Linked DNA regions of Homo sapiens: region 1 is linked to region 2. Evidence: promoter capture Hi-C in 16 types of primary human blood cells and fetal thymus (Javierre and others, 2016). All regions are on one chromosome and are shown on one strand. The core of a region is centred on a gene start or on the middle of the fragment in contact, and the rest is flanking DNA. Distances in the headings are between cores, read along the strand shown.

What was found. Contacts are between HindIII fragments. The CHiCAGO score rates a contact against its expected background, and 5 or more counts as called.
Region 1: a fragment that was not itself captured here is called in contact with the fragment with the promoter of INHBA in region 2 in 1 of 17 cell types (neutrophils); the score reaches 6.4 in neutrophils.

Annotation. Positions count from the first base shown.
Region 1 is chr7:41,053,394-41,060,074 of GRCh38, forward strand. No RefSeq gene overlaps it. Among named protein-coding and RNA genes, the nearest start is that of LINC01449, 45 kb to the right of the region's middle. RefSeq lists enhancers at 898-1,192, 5,766-6,617. The HindIII fragment of the contact is 867 bases long and covers 4,038-4,904 here.
Region 2 is chr7:41,699,985-41,707,495 of GRCh38, forward strand. It overlaps INHBA (inhibin subunit beta A), which reads right to left and starts at 3,106. Exons shown (of 3, transcript NM_002192.4): 1 at 3,021-3,106; 2 at 3-533. The coding sequence starts at 390. The region is part of intron 1 of INHBA-AS1 (INHBA antisense RNA 1); the gene reads left to right. RefSeq lists an enhancer at 5,147-5,236. The HindIII fragment of the contact is 6,998 bases long and covers 122-7,119 here.

The DNA.
Region 1 (6,681 bases), core at 3,221-5,720, 650 kb before region 2:
TACAAAAATTAGCTGGGTGGGATGGCACATGCCTGTAATCCTAACTACTCGGGAGGTTGAGCCAGGAGAATCACTTCAACTCAGGAGGCAGAGGTTGCAGTGAGCCGAGATTGCACCATTGCACTCCAGCCTGGGTGACAGAGTGAGACTCCATCTCAAAAAAAGAAAATAAAAAAAAGAATAAATCGGACCTCCATTAACGAAATTTCAGAATAGTGGGATGAATAAAAGGTTTTTAGGGACAGGGTTAGAAGTCGCTGATATTTTATCATGCAAATCTGACCCTTCTTACTGGATCCACTCTCGCTCCCTACAACTCATATACACACATATGAGCACACACGTATGCCCATCCTTGTACAGGCACACACATGCATGCACCCATGTACACACTCCCATGCCCATGCACACACACCGAAGAAGCTGGTTCATAAGACAGAAGTTCTCACCACAAAGAAATGATAAATGCGTGAGGTGATGAATAAGCTAAATATACTGATTGGATCATTATAAACATATGGGTGTATCAAAACATCAAATTGTACCCCTTAAATATGTACAATTACAATGAGTCAATGAAAAAAAATGCAACACTCTTTAGTAAGTTAGAATAAGCTGAATAAAATCCCATGCCGGTTAAAACCTTTTTCCTCCAGGAGGGGGGTGTCCTGCTGACTTCCTTGTCAGGAGGCTACTTCAACTGAGCCTCCAAACAGCCTGCTCTTAGTAATTATTTTGGTATGGATTTGTTTGGGTTATGTCCTTACTGACAGACTTACCAAGGCTTCCCATTCTTTATAAGAACACATCTTAACTTCTTAGTTTATCACTGGGGTCTTTTTCAATCTGTTCCAAACTTAACTTCCCTTCTTGCTCTATCATCTTCCTGCCACCATGCACCCTACACTTCTGTTTCCCTGGATGACTTAATTAATGTCGAATGTGTATTCCTTTGTCATTGTATTCCTTCATCACTTTGTCATGGCTGTTCCTTTGCCTTCCATATCTTCTCAGACTATTGAGCTCCTGTTCATTGATCGAGACTTGGCTGACGTGTGTTTCCTCTGTGAAGCCGCCCAATGGTTTGTCCAGATATTATTACATGGAAATTCTTCAAGGTAGTGGGGCAGCACACCAACAGCGCCTGTATTTCACTTATGTGTTCAGGGCCTGCAGTCAACACTTCATACCGATTAGCTCTTTCAGTCCTCTCCACAACCGTATAGCCTCATTTTATCCTTGAGGAAGCTGAGGCACAGACAGGTCATGGAACTTCCTCAAGACCATGCACATGGCAAGTAGCAGAGCCAAGAGCTGAAGCCAGGCAGACTGAGTTTTCCTCATCCTCTTTTTTTTTTTAAATGCTTACCCCAGCATGAAGTCTGGGGAGGGCAGGAAATGTTCTGTGTGGAGCCTTGCATTTGCTAGCGCCTCATACCAGGGGCTTCAGTGCATGCTTGTGACTGAAGGAAGATGTGCTGATGTTTCATACAGGCTTGTTCAATAATGGAAGGAAGTTTTTGAGATGAGGCCGATCATTCCAATTCCTGCCGCTTCAGGATGGTAGAGAAAAAAACAGAGAGGGAGACATGCTGTCCACAATGACTTGTGTCTGACATTTACCTTAAATCAAAGAATGCTGATGGAAGGAGTTATGAGGACTCTCTATCAAAACCTATCTAAGAGTCAGCCTGACCTTAAATGGAGTGTCTCCAAGCCTCATTGCTCAATTTCAGTGTGGACTTCACTCTCAAAGCCTAGCAGGAATTAAGTTTTTTGTCAGCTTTCCCACACACATGAGGCTCACTTTGGCATTTCCAGGTGGCCTGGGTCATAGCATAGCCTCCAAGCTTCACCGACCTGGGACTTCTTGGGAGGTTTTAGCCTGGGCTGTGCTGCATAGGTGTGCATTGTGTGAGGCTGAGGTGGTGGTGGGCGTGGAAGAGAGCTCATCAGTCTTCATTTCATGGCATAGAAATAATCAAGCCTGGATATTAATTTTGTGGTAATTGCTCCCCGCTTCGTGTTTACAGAGAGAGAGAAACAGCTGGGGCGGTTGACATCTGAAACAGGAGCCGCTGATCATTACTTGCGCAGCAGATGGGCTTGAGTTATGAATAAGCAGCAAATGTGAAAAAGAGATTCGCAGGGGTGAGCCAGGCTTGCTTCGTGCAAAACCGGTTAACCCTTCCTTGCTGTTTGCCACAGTTGCTGCGGGTTCAAGGTTTGGATTGCTGGGCTGCCTCTTTTTATGGTTAGAGACCTGGTACCACCAGATGTGACAGGGAATAAAGTAAAACTGGACTAAAAAAATGCATGAGAAAAGCCCGTGCATGTTTGATAAGTAAGCGTGAGATCGAAACACAACACAGACCCTGCTACCAATGAACGGCAATGCAGCCCCTCTGCCTGGATTTACTCTCCTAGCGTACGCATAAATCAACACCTCCAAAGTGGGTCGGCCTCAGGAGGAATAGGGAGTCCATCTGATGAGGATCCTGGACAGGATGTGATTTGAGAGGTGTCAGAAAGTTCCCATTTTCCACCAATACCTCCTCAACTAACTTCTCACCAATGTCTGCAATTTTATATTTAGGAGAGCGTTCCTTCATGTTACATAACTGAACAAAGCTCATCAAAATGCAATGTCCTTGAGAGGGGTGACATGTTGAGACTCATGAGTTTGTCAGATCCTTTCCAGACTTCATCTTTCGAAGCTCTCAGAGGGCAGCTCCCTGTGGAGTTGGACAAATGATGGGGGAGAGGTTAAGCTGAAGAGGGGCCCTGAGCATAGTGAATGCCTTGAGCATCTGGCTTAACCTGGCTCTGCCACTTACTAGCCATGTAACCTTGGGCCAAGGGCCAAGCCTTGACCTTGAGGCACATAGCCTAAGTTTTGGAATCCTCATTTTTAAAAAGTCAAAATAACAACAGGTACTGTGACTAGGTCATAGGAGTTAGTGCATATCAGACATGGCAAAGATTATGGGAACACCTTGATAGCTACAAAGCAATATACAAGTATAAAATAATAGTGGTGGGATGATCGTGCTTGGAGGGGTGGTGTAGGTCACAGCAGTTCTTGTGATAGGAGGCTTGGTACTTTTCAGAAACTACAAAATATATTGGTGTTGGGGGTATGCAGAAGCGCTTGGAGCCTCTTTGCAGCTCTAGTAACCAAAGCCTTTGTCACAGGAGGCATAATATGGCTAACCAGGAGTCGCTCCTAAGTTGCAGTTATCGAGGGGACTCCTACCAGCATTGCATGGAGCAGGGCATGGAATTTATATTTCTGCTTAATATTGAGGGATATTCTGACCTAACCCAAGAGGCAGAATTAGGTCTTTCCATAACCACAGCAGGCAGAGAACACAAATCAGGAATATCAGAGGTAACCTGGAACCCAACAAAAAGAGGAAGAACTCGGGAGGAAATGGGAGAGAATGCCCAGGGACCCAGGCAGAACAGGCAATCAGTATCTCCAGATGGGACTGGCGGGAAGCACAGCCTCATTAGCAATTCCTGATAAAGACCGATCTTAAAATTAACTTTGAGACACTTTATCAGCAGGAGAGATGAGGGAAAGCCCTGCTATAAGAAAATGAGGTCATGGGGTAGATCTACTGGTGTTCAGAACACCAGTAGAGCTGGAGGAATATGAGCTTAACTTGACGGATATCACAACACTAGCTTACTCCCAGTCTATGAGTTCCCAACAACTCCTAAACGTGGAAGAACTGCAAATTTATATTAAAGCCACTTTTAAAAAAATTGCTGATTTATGGTATGTATTAATTTGTATTGACTTGTATCTTAAAATATCATTCTCCATCCATTTTTAACAAATCCTCTTCTTTTACCTTCCTAAGGTCTCCTGTTAAGGAACACTTACAAGGTATGTTTACAGGTAGACGTATTCACCTGGTGGGTTGAATGAACTATTATAACCAAGATGTTGATATCTAGTGTGGTCAGAAGCTCATATAATAGATTATTGTTTCAGCTGGGCTGGCAACTTGGTTTGCTCCACAAGATAAAGCTTACAACCTGAATTTTTCTGCCCATTTCAGCTCCAAAGCTCATCATTTTCATCTCAAACCATCATTTGATGGCATTTCCCTTAAAATGTCACTAATGTGGTTTAGCTATGTCCCCACACAAATCTCATCTTGGATTGTAGTTCCCATAATCCCCACATGTTGGGGGAGGAAGCCAGTGGGAGGTAATTGAATCATGGGGGCAGTTACCCCCATACTTATTTTCTGATGATAGTGAGTGAGTTCTCATGAGATCTGATGGTTTTATAGGGGGCTTCCCCCAACTACTTACCCTGCACTTGTCTTTCCTGCTGCCATGTGAAGAAGGACCTGTTTGCTTTCCCTTCTGCCATGATTGTAAGTTTCCTGAGGCCTCCCCAGCCCTGTGGAACTGTGAGTCAATTAAACCTCTTTCCTTTATAAATTACCCAGTATCGGGTATTTCTTCATAGCAGCATGAGAACAGACTAATACAGTTACTTTTGTTGACTCCTGGTGTGGTATATATGTATGTATGTATATGTATGTCTATATATATATACTCTCTCACTGCTCTGGGAATAACAATTATTGTTCTTGGGTTGGGCTTTATTTTGGATATCTTTCTAAAATCCTGAGTGAAAGGAATCTCAGAATTGGCTGCTGATTTCTCCACATTACAAAGCTGAAGTTCTCCCTTAATTTACTTTTCTTTTTCTATTCCTTTCCTGATGATTTTTTCTTGTTCTTATCCTTATCATAGCACGTGCTTTAGTGGTTTCTCTTGTGCCTGTCAGTTTAGGGCTCCAGCCCTTTCCCAAAGGTCCCACATTTAGGTTTTAGGGTCATCAGGGGGTTTCCAAGTGATCTCACAGTCAGTTCTCTTTAAGCTTCAACCACCAAGACCCTTCCTCTCTTGCTCAATCTGTCAGTGTCACCTCTGTCACCACCTCTCACACTTAACAGGACCCAAATTCACTCTTGAGGTGCTGGCACCCAGGTGTGCTAGAGCTTAGCTCTTTGGTGAGTCCTCCATGTGCCAGAGCTGCTCAGGGTCCTTTACAGGAATTAGAAACATTGTCCTCATGGTGCTTTTGAGTAATGCTAAGATAGAGGAGGAAAAGCTAAACTTTTACCTCAAATTATTTAGAGAATTTAGCAGATCCCACTGCCATCCCTGCCTCTCCAGAACTGGGCAAAACATGATACTCTGAGTGCTGCCACATCCACTGTCCCCATCTGAGGCCATAAGCCACGGCAGTCCCTCGGGCACAAATCAAAATGGGTCACACCATGGGATCCCGTGAGCTGGTCTCACCTGTGGACCAAGGGTGGGGATCGGGGCCAAAGACAGTCCTCTGGATAGAGGTCAGCCAATGGGCAGATTGGGGGAAAGCTCTCATCAACAGGGCACTGATAGGGATTAACTTAACCAGGAAACCCTTCCTTGTGGAGTTTGAACCCAAAATACGCAGTCACTAGATTACTTGATCACAGAGACAGGGAGGAGGCACAGCACCAATATGGCAGGGCCCTGGGGAAGAGAAAATCACAGGCTCTTGACCTGGGGAAAATGAGGCGTTTCGATCAGCAAGGTCTGGGTTTTGCCGTAGATAGCATTTAAGTCCAAGTAAAGAATGATCCCTTCATTTTGTCTCCTTTCAAGCAGCAGCCCTCAAATAAGGTGGACAGCCTATGTCTATTCCTTGTGACCCAAAAGAGTCTAATGATTTGGCTCTTGCCCCCTCCCCTACTCTCCTGCTGGAGCAAGGAGGGATTACTATGTTGCCAACTGGGCTGCTCCTGGAAAAGAGAGCTGCTTTTTCCCCTTAATCCTTTTGATACCAACAATTAGAGTTCAGAGGAAAATAACAGCCTCAAACATAACTAATGCAGTGCTAGTCCCAGCCAAGGTGCCGTCCCTACCCTCTCTATGTGGCAAAACTCCCCACTGGAGGAACCAAGGAATCAGGAACTTTGGGCTTAGGTAATGACTGCAGAATTGGGCCCAAGCTGAGTCAGCCACAGCCCTTGGCATATCCCCAAGTGAAAGAAACAGCAGGTTGAGGGTTACTTAAGATATGAACTCTTTAAACCCTCTCCCATTGGGAATGCTGACAAGCCAGATAAAGTGCCTCCCTTCCTTTGTCCCTCCTCATCTCAGCAAATGACAAAGTGCAGGTTGTTGCCTCCAGGTGAGCACAGCTCTGAGGAAACAAGGAAAGCAAACAAATACTGCTGTGTGGCTGAGTGGTTCCCAGGCTCCATTTCAAAGGCAGTCCCTTATGGCTTTGTTTGCTCCTGTTTTTCCCAGCATAGGTGTTTGATATCACACAGACCCATTCTGAATTTCCAAGAAGAGGAGTATTTAGTTTACAGTGGGTAGCCGAGAGTATCCTAGTTTGAAAAAGGGAATAAGTTATCTGTCCACCAGGTATATTTAAAAGCCCCTGATTGTGCTGGTATCAAGGTGCTGATGGGACATGAGAAAGTTCAATTCGGGTATCTGAGAAAAGCACCTATGGCAATGGCTTTTCTGAGACAACTCACTGGCATTATTCACCCTTGGTTGAAGGTCAGCATTCTCACTGGAACCTCACTCCCGGTTCCCAGCTTCAGGTGTGGCAGGAGAAGGTTAGGACATCAGGTGATTGCTTACACAGGT
Region 2 (7,511 bases), core at 1,856-4,355:
ACCTGACTCGGCAAACGTGATGATCTCCGAGGTCTGCTCCATAAGTTCATTCATTTCTGCCCTCCTTCCAATGTCATCCTCTATCTCCACATACCCGTTCTCCCCGACTTTGCCCACATGAAGCTTTCTGATCGCGTTCAGAAGCGCCGCCTTGGGTACCGGCTGGGTGACATCGGGTCTCTTCTTCAAGTGCAGCATGTTTAAAATGTGCTTCTTGACGGCCTCCACCATCTCTGGCTGAGAGTTGGGTACATCCTTTGGGAGGGCGGCCAGCGCACAGGACGGACAGTCGGGGGCCGCGCTGTGCCCCTCGGATCCTGGGGTGGGGGAACTCCTCACTATAATCCAGCAACTTGCCAACAGAAATCCTCTCAGCCAAAGCAAGGGCATCCTGGCAGCAAAAGTTGTTGTGATTGCCTTTTTAAAAGGCCCTGCTTTTCCTCCCCCCTCACGCGCAGGTTTTTTTGTGTGTGTGGATTTTTTTATTTTTTTTTTTGGTGTTTTTTTTTTCCTTCTCCTCTTCAGCAAATTCTCTGGAACAAGAACAAAAAGTTTTCTGTGAAGTTTTGTTTGCAGGTTCCTCTCTGAATGCAGTCAGTGCTGTAGGTTTGTGGCTGTCAGGGAGGAGAGTTCTGACTGTCTCCGAGTAAGAGAGAAGGAAGGAGGGAGGGAGGGAGGGAGACAGGGAGGGAGGGAGAGACAGGGTGGCGGGGAGACAGACAGAGACAGAGAGAGAGGATGGGAGGGAGACAGAGACAGAGAGAGAGGAGAGAGGGGGAGAGAAGAGAGAGGGAAAGAAGGGGGAGAGAGAGGGAGAGAGGGAGGGAAGGGAGGGGGAGAGGGAGAGAGGGAAAGGAAGAGAGAGAGAGAGAGAGAGAGAGAGAGAGAGAGAGAAAGGATTGGCCCTAAGTAAGTGAGTGAATGGAGAGGGAGGGAGTTTGCTGTGAGTAGGGCTGTGATTAGGGAGGGAGGGACAGCCCGTTTTCTGACAGGCTGCTCTCCTTCTGCTCTTAGCTTCCTCACAGACACCTCTCTTCAAATATCACCATTTTCGGGGGTTCTACTTTCTCTTCTAAAATAAATTATCCTAATTTTGTTCACTATTTTTTTTTCTTTCTCTGCCCAGTCTCCTGGTTTCACCTTCTTCCTTTTTTGGAGGGGAGAAAAGAAACCCCAAACAAACACAGTGTCTCAATCAATAGGGATGAATTGATTGAAAAAGTGTTCCCACCGCCCCTCCACCCAGCCAAGCCACAGCCCTAGGTGGTAGAACGCCCACCTGGCCACGTGGTGGGGCAGAGGGTGCAGGGAGGTCCAGTGGACAGGTAGTGGAGGTCAGGGAAGAGGGACTCAGGGGTAACAGAGGATTGTTCTGGCCTGATGGGATCCAGGGGAGATGGTCCTTTCCCCCAATTCATTCATATTTAAATGTTCAGGTCATCAACACTGGCAGGCAATCTGAGGAGAGCGCAATGGAACTTTTGTTTGGGGTCATATAATACACTCCACTCTTCCCAACTGTGAAATGCAGCAGGGCACTGAAGGACCAGAGGGCAGGCAGCCTGTCACAAGCCCAAGTTCCAGAAGCGCTTTCTCCCCGTCGCGTTCAGCTGCCCCCTTCTGCCGGGGACCCACTCACTCTCACACATTACAGCCTACCACCACTCGCCGGACTTCACAGATAAAATGCAAAATTCTCTTGGCCTTTCCCACATCCTTTTATAAAAAGAGTGCACTCGTATGACTTGAATAACTGGTCCTATGGGAAAAGACTCTCTAAAATATATTGGCAAATTATTTTTCTCTGTCATGTGGTAGTTTTTTCAGCTTGCCCCAAGCCTGTCCCGACCAGTGCATTCATAGACAGCCTCCTTGACTGCTTCTTTTTCCCTCAAAGGAACAGTGCAGATGAAATCATCATGGATTTTAGTGTGCACAGAAAAAGAAAAATGTGAATTTTTTAACAATGCCTTTCTAAGGCTTAAAAAAAATTCTTCCCCCTCCCCTCTTTTTCATTTTCTGTCTTATTGCTTTTATCTTGCAGAAGAATCTTTAAGGGGTCCATCTGTTAAAGCGTTCCTTCCCTCTCGGTTTCTTTCCCACACATAAGCCCTCTTGGTTTCTGAAGATACACTCAGCTTATATCTGACACCTAGTGTGTTCATAGCATTACAGTCAAGCAATGCAGTTTAGGTGGAAAGAGTTAATAAATATCATTACTACAAGATAAGATCTGAGTGCAAGGGGAAGAGGGCAAGAAAATTGTGACACTAAGTTATAATTACAGTTTGCACAGGTTAACAATGCTTTCTGAATTATATATACTGTCCCCTTTTCCAAAACAACTATTTGTAAGACTTTTTCTGTTACAAGTAACCTAACACCTTTGGGGTTTCAGCTCCAGAAACATCAATTACTCCACCATTATTGTTAAAACTTTGTCAACATTGCCTAAAAAGCCTCATATTTTTTACGGGGATGGTGAAAGAGAATGGGGGAGGCAGGGGACATTTGTGTTACAATGGTTTTATAAAAAATCTTTGTGCTATAATACTTAACATCATCCACCTATTTGGAGTCACATATACAGTACCCAAAATGTTTTGCAGTTCAATTAAGTTTTACAAGAAAGTCTGAAATACAACCAAAAGTTTAATGGCTCTAAACAACTCAGGAGTCCTAATAGCAGCATTTAGATAAGTGCAACTTATCAATATTTGGATTCTCTCTGCATCTGAGTATGTGTGTGTTCCCTGAATTTACTGTTTGCGAATGTAACTCTTAAAAATAGCTTTCTCTTTGGCATATGTACTTGTATATATGTGCTGAGTGGCTTGTATAAACATATAATCTATTTGCATGCTCTAGGACTATTAAAAGCTGTATTAACCTGCCTGAATAATATAAAAAGGTACACATCACAATGCACATTGGAAATGCCAATTAGTTGTAAAATTCCTCCTAGCTTTCCTATCTTTGAATGTGTAAAGAGCTCAGAAGTAAGAGTTAAAAAGCATTACCTTTCTGGTCCCCACTCTTCCACCAGCCGGCTCTTGTATCATGTGGTAAGAGCTGTCTGAGCTCCTCTTCATGGTATTGGCACTGTGAAGTTTTATACTGTACTACTTATTTGTACACCACACATTGGTACCACTGAAACAGAGGAGGGCTGGGGCTTTGTTTGGGATTGGTTGGAATCAGCATGACATCAGCGGATGACTGGTTTTTCCAGTGTGAGACATTTCATAATTCATTATCTAATGGAAAGCCCTTCCTGGCTTCTGAGACACTACTGGGTGATGCACTGAGCCAGTGAAACCTCTGGCTAGGATTACTCTACCTTTTAGAAAAACATTGGAATCAAATAGATATGTCTCAATGAGTGTGTCCAACTTTCAACTTTTACTACTCGCACACACGTCTCGTTATATTCAGGTTCAGTTTTATGTCTTTACATAAAACATCTGTTACTTCATGAAGTTGCTTCTATTTACAAAGTATTTTATTGTTTCTTTCAGGAAAGAAAATTGGTAGTGTTCTTTATAGGGATTCTAATTTTATATTTTTAAAATAAGCTATTTCATTGAGGAAAAAAATTGGGAAAATCTGTATAATCATATGATGATGGTCTCCCCCGACCCCAACCAACTTACACTATTATTTTACATCTTGAAATTGAATGCCTGCTTCATAAATCAAGAACTTTGGAAATAGTAATTCTCTTTAAATGAACTTCATAAGTATCCTTCCCAGGTCTTTAGAATCTCATTCTAACTAACCAAACACACACACACACACACACACACACAACAACAACAACAACAAAAACCCTCATGCATCATTCTTTTTTACCAGAACTTCAACTCCTATAATTTCTAAATTGTTACAAATATAACAGCAGATTAATGAAAAGAAGTGAACACTCCTTGAAATAGGGGTAAAGCTGGTCAGGCTTTTTTTGTGGGGGAGGGGTGTTGGCAAGTCTGGTAAATAACACAGGAGGAAGGGGTCCTCTGACAAGAACGGTGAAGGGTTGTTTGAAGGACTACAGTTGAAGCATAAGCCCAGTTCTCATGACAAGTTGGATAAAATGTGCAAAATTGGGAGCTAATGAGAGCCATATGACCAGATATGTTGTTTTGTATGCAGGATTTAACATGCATAAAATAAACTTTTCACTGTGCCCACAAGCAAAATATAGAGGCTCTGGCCTCCTGATGTGTGGCTTAAGCAGGTTCCATTAGGACACCAGAAGTTTTCTGTGTAAAAGGGTCTCTCTTGGCTAGATACAGAGAAAGTGTGGGTGCTGAGCTGCATGGGGGTGGGGGGAAGGAGTATTCTAAGAACTGCATATGCAGAAATGAAGTAGGAAAAAAATCATTAGGTTGTAGAGGAAGAGAGTGAATCTGAGTGGCGAAGACAGAAATAGGATTAATGATGGTGAACTCCAAACCTGCCCCTCAGCTTAGCACTGGGTGAACTCAAACCCTTTATAAGAAAGAAACTTCTCCACCCTTTTTGCTGAGAATTAGTGGAGTCAATGACCTTCAGGGCATCTAAACTCACCCCTGACCCACACATGAACCCTAGTGTCCTGAAAACATCCCCTCCGCCTCCACACAAAGTAGTGTGTGTGTGTGTGTGTGTGTGTGTGTGTGTGTGTGTGTGTGTGTAGGTGACGTGGGGTGGGGGTGGGGGGCACAAAACAAACCCAGATCAGATCCCAGTTCCTCTGCTCACTCACCGTGTAAACTCAGGCCTCAGTGTTCCCATCTATAAAATGGGATCCATGATATGAACCTGTGGGGGTCAAGTGCAGCTGTCAGATAATAATAAGTGATACTATTTCTGAGAAGCCTGGTGGCTGTTCTTAAACATGGGTGTCACAGGAATCTGCAGCTCTCTGACCAGAGGAGCCACAACACAAGTGTGACTCTGAAACTCCGCTGGCCATCTGATGCCACCGAGTGCCCACCTGCCAGGCCAGCCTACCAGCCGTGCTGCAACCCCTCTGCAACCACCTGCACCACAGTGGCAATGCCTCCTCCCTCGGTGCAAATCAAGGTGGGGGTGGTGGAGGAAGCAGGCAGGTTAAAATAGCTTCTGTGGAATATTCTAGACTGGGAATCAGCTTTTCCCTGCGGAACTCAAGGGCCCGGGGCACAAGCTGGTCAGCCCAGTCCTGACCAGAATCTCCTTCTCCTTCCTTGGTTTGGTTTCTCTTTCACTTCCCCCTCCCCCGGAGCTTCCCCGCACCCCAGGCCCTTCGGGTCCCGGCTTCTCGGCCCTGCTACTGTACCTTGAGCAGCACCTGCTGGCAGCTTCCAGGGATCACGCCGGAACGCGGCCGCTGCTCGAGCCCAGCTCGCAGGATGCCTGGAGCCAGGGCCAAGCCGGTCTAAGCGGCAGCCTCTATTTTTACCCTGAGCACCAGCAAGGGCAACTTCTTTTAAGAGCAGCTCTTGATTTTTTCCCCCCTTTTGGCAGCTAAAGAATTCAGGGAGGGGAAAAAAATCACTGTTCAGTGAGTGCAGCTGGGAATCTCTGAACCCAGCCCTCAGTGCCAGGGAGTGAAACCACAGCAAATGTCAGGGAGCGGGACCTGCGGAGGGGCCGGCTGGCTCCCCGCGGACAGAGGCGAGCCGGGAGCGCTCGCGCACCAGCCAACTGCCCCCTTCTGAGTGCGGAGCGCGGTCCTCCAGCGACTGCACTAGCAAAGTGGCCCGCTGCCACCGCGTTATTCACCTAGTGGAGGCGGCCTGATTTACTGGCGACTTCACAAACCCAACTCCACGCTGGAGCATTTGCATGGCTCTGTTCTCGCCTCGAGGAGCAGCCACTAGCGAACCCGGTGGAGCAGCTTGCTGCGAGAAGGAGCCGGGAGGGAAACTGTGGTACCTTATTTTACTGTAATTGCAAAAGGAACGATGTGCCAGAGATTTATATTTAGAAGTTGTATGTTTCTACTTTTATGTAAATGGAGCAATTAGGGCCTGTCTTGCTGCTGCTAACTCCAATGCGTGTGCATTGCTGGGGAGCTGGTGTTTTCAATCACAATTAGTGAGCTGGTCAAAAAACAAAGTTCGTTTAAGGATAAGAGCTCAATTGTGCGAATGGGGGAGAGGCCAGCGTTCGTGTGCTGGCCCGTGGCTTACGGTGACACCTAGCTTAGGGCCACGGCCAACCCTATAGTGGTGTTTACCTGTGGCAGCAGCTGTCCCTGTTCAAAGTTGGCATAGATGAGGAAGCAAGAATGTTCACTTTTCTTCTCAAACCGTCTGTCCTTCAGCTTTCATCCACGCTATTAACTGGTCTCTTTCCTCACTACTCCTGGAGCAAGGAGACAGGACCAGAAAAGGGAGTGGGGGTTGGGGCATTTTTCAGGGCTCTATTATTTTAGCTGCTGCTCACGGATTGCTGTTATTCAGTCAAAAATACAAGCCAGGAGACGCGAACGCCCCAAGCAGGTGACTGGGATGTTGTTCTCTGATTCAGCTGAAATGACACAAGGCTGGGGGTTCAGAGGCACGGACAAGAGTGCTGACGAGTCACGGTGTTTTCTTTCCTTCCTATGAAAAAATCTGTTTCCAAAAAAGCATGATTTCTGGTTCATCCCGTCTGGGAAACCGAACATAAAACGTGACTATGGAGAGAAATCAAAAGGACTCGAGGTGTTCCCAGCAGCTGATGTGTTATTCTGGGGCTCAGGCCGGAAAACCTGGCCTTGTTGGTGAGGGGTGACTCCCTCCAGAGGCAGCTCAGAATCCAGAGAACGTGGGCAGGATCCAGAGTACTATTTGCTGCAGGGAGACTGCGAGAGTCTGTGATGAAGGGTCTCATCAAATGGTTTAAATCGAACATGGGATTGGCAAACCCTGCCTGTTTCCTGGACAGCCGCAGCCTGTACATAGCTTGGGCTGAATGTTAGGTAGAAAGATTTGGGACAAAGGAGAATCAGCGTTTCACGTTCAAAATTGAACTGGGAAGCTGTTTTGCTTTTAAGTTAAATCAATGAATGAATAGATCGAAACAGAGAGAGAGAGGAAAGCATTAAAAAGTCCCCTGAAATTCATTGAGAACAACAGGGTCAGAAATGGTTAATCTGAAACTTGACTCGTAAGCTTCACATTTCTTTCAGAACCACCAGAATATCCCACAAGGCCTTCTGCTATGTAAGAGCACTCTGTTTTTAGATTATTTGGAAATGCTGCTTTCTGAACCAAGGGAACCCAGATACTAGAACTAAAACAATTAGGGAAAAGAGAAGGAGGAAGAAAACCCAGTAAGTAACCTATTACTCTTCATTCTACAGCAGTGGTTCTCAACCGGGGCGATTTTGCTCCCCGGGGAACATCTGGCCATGTTTGAAGACATTTTGGTTGTTACAGCTGGGAGGGAGGTTCTACTGATCATTAGTGGGTAGGGCCCAGGGATGCTGCTGAATATCCTACCATGCACAGGACAGCCCCCAACAACAAGAAATTACCTGGCCTACAGTGTTCATTGTTCTG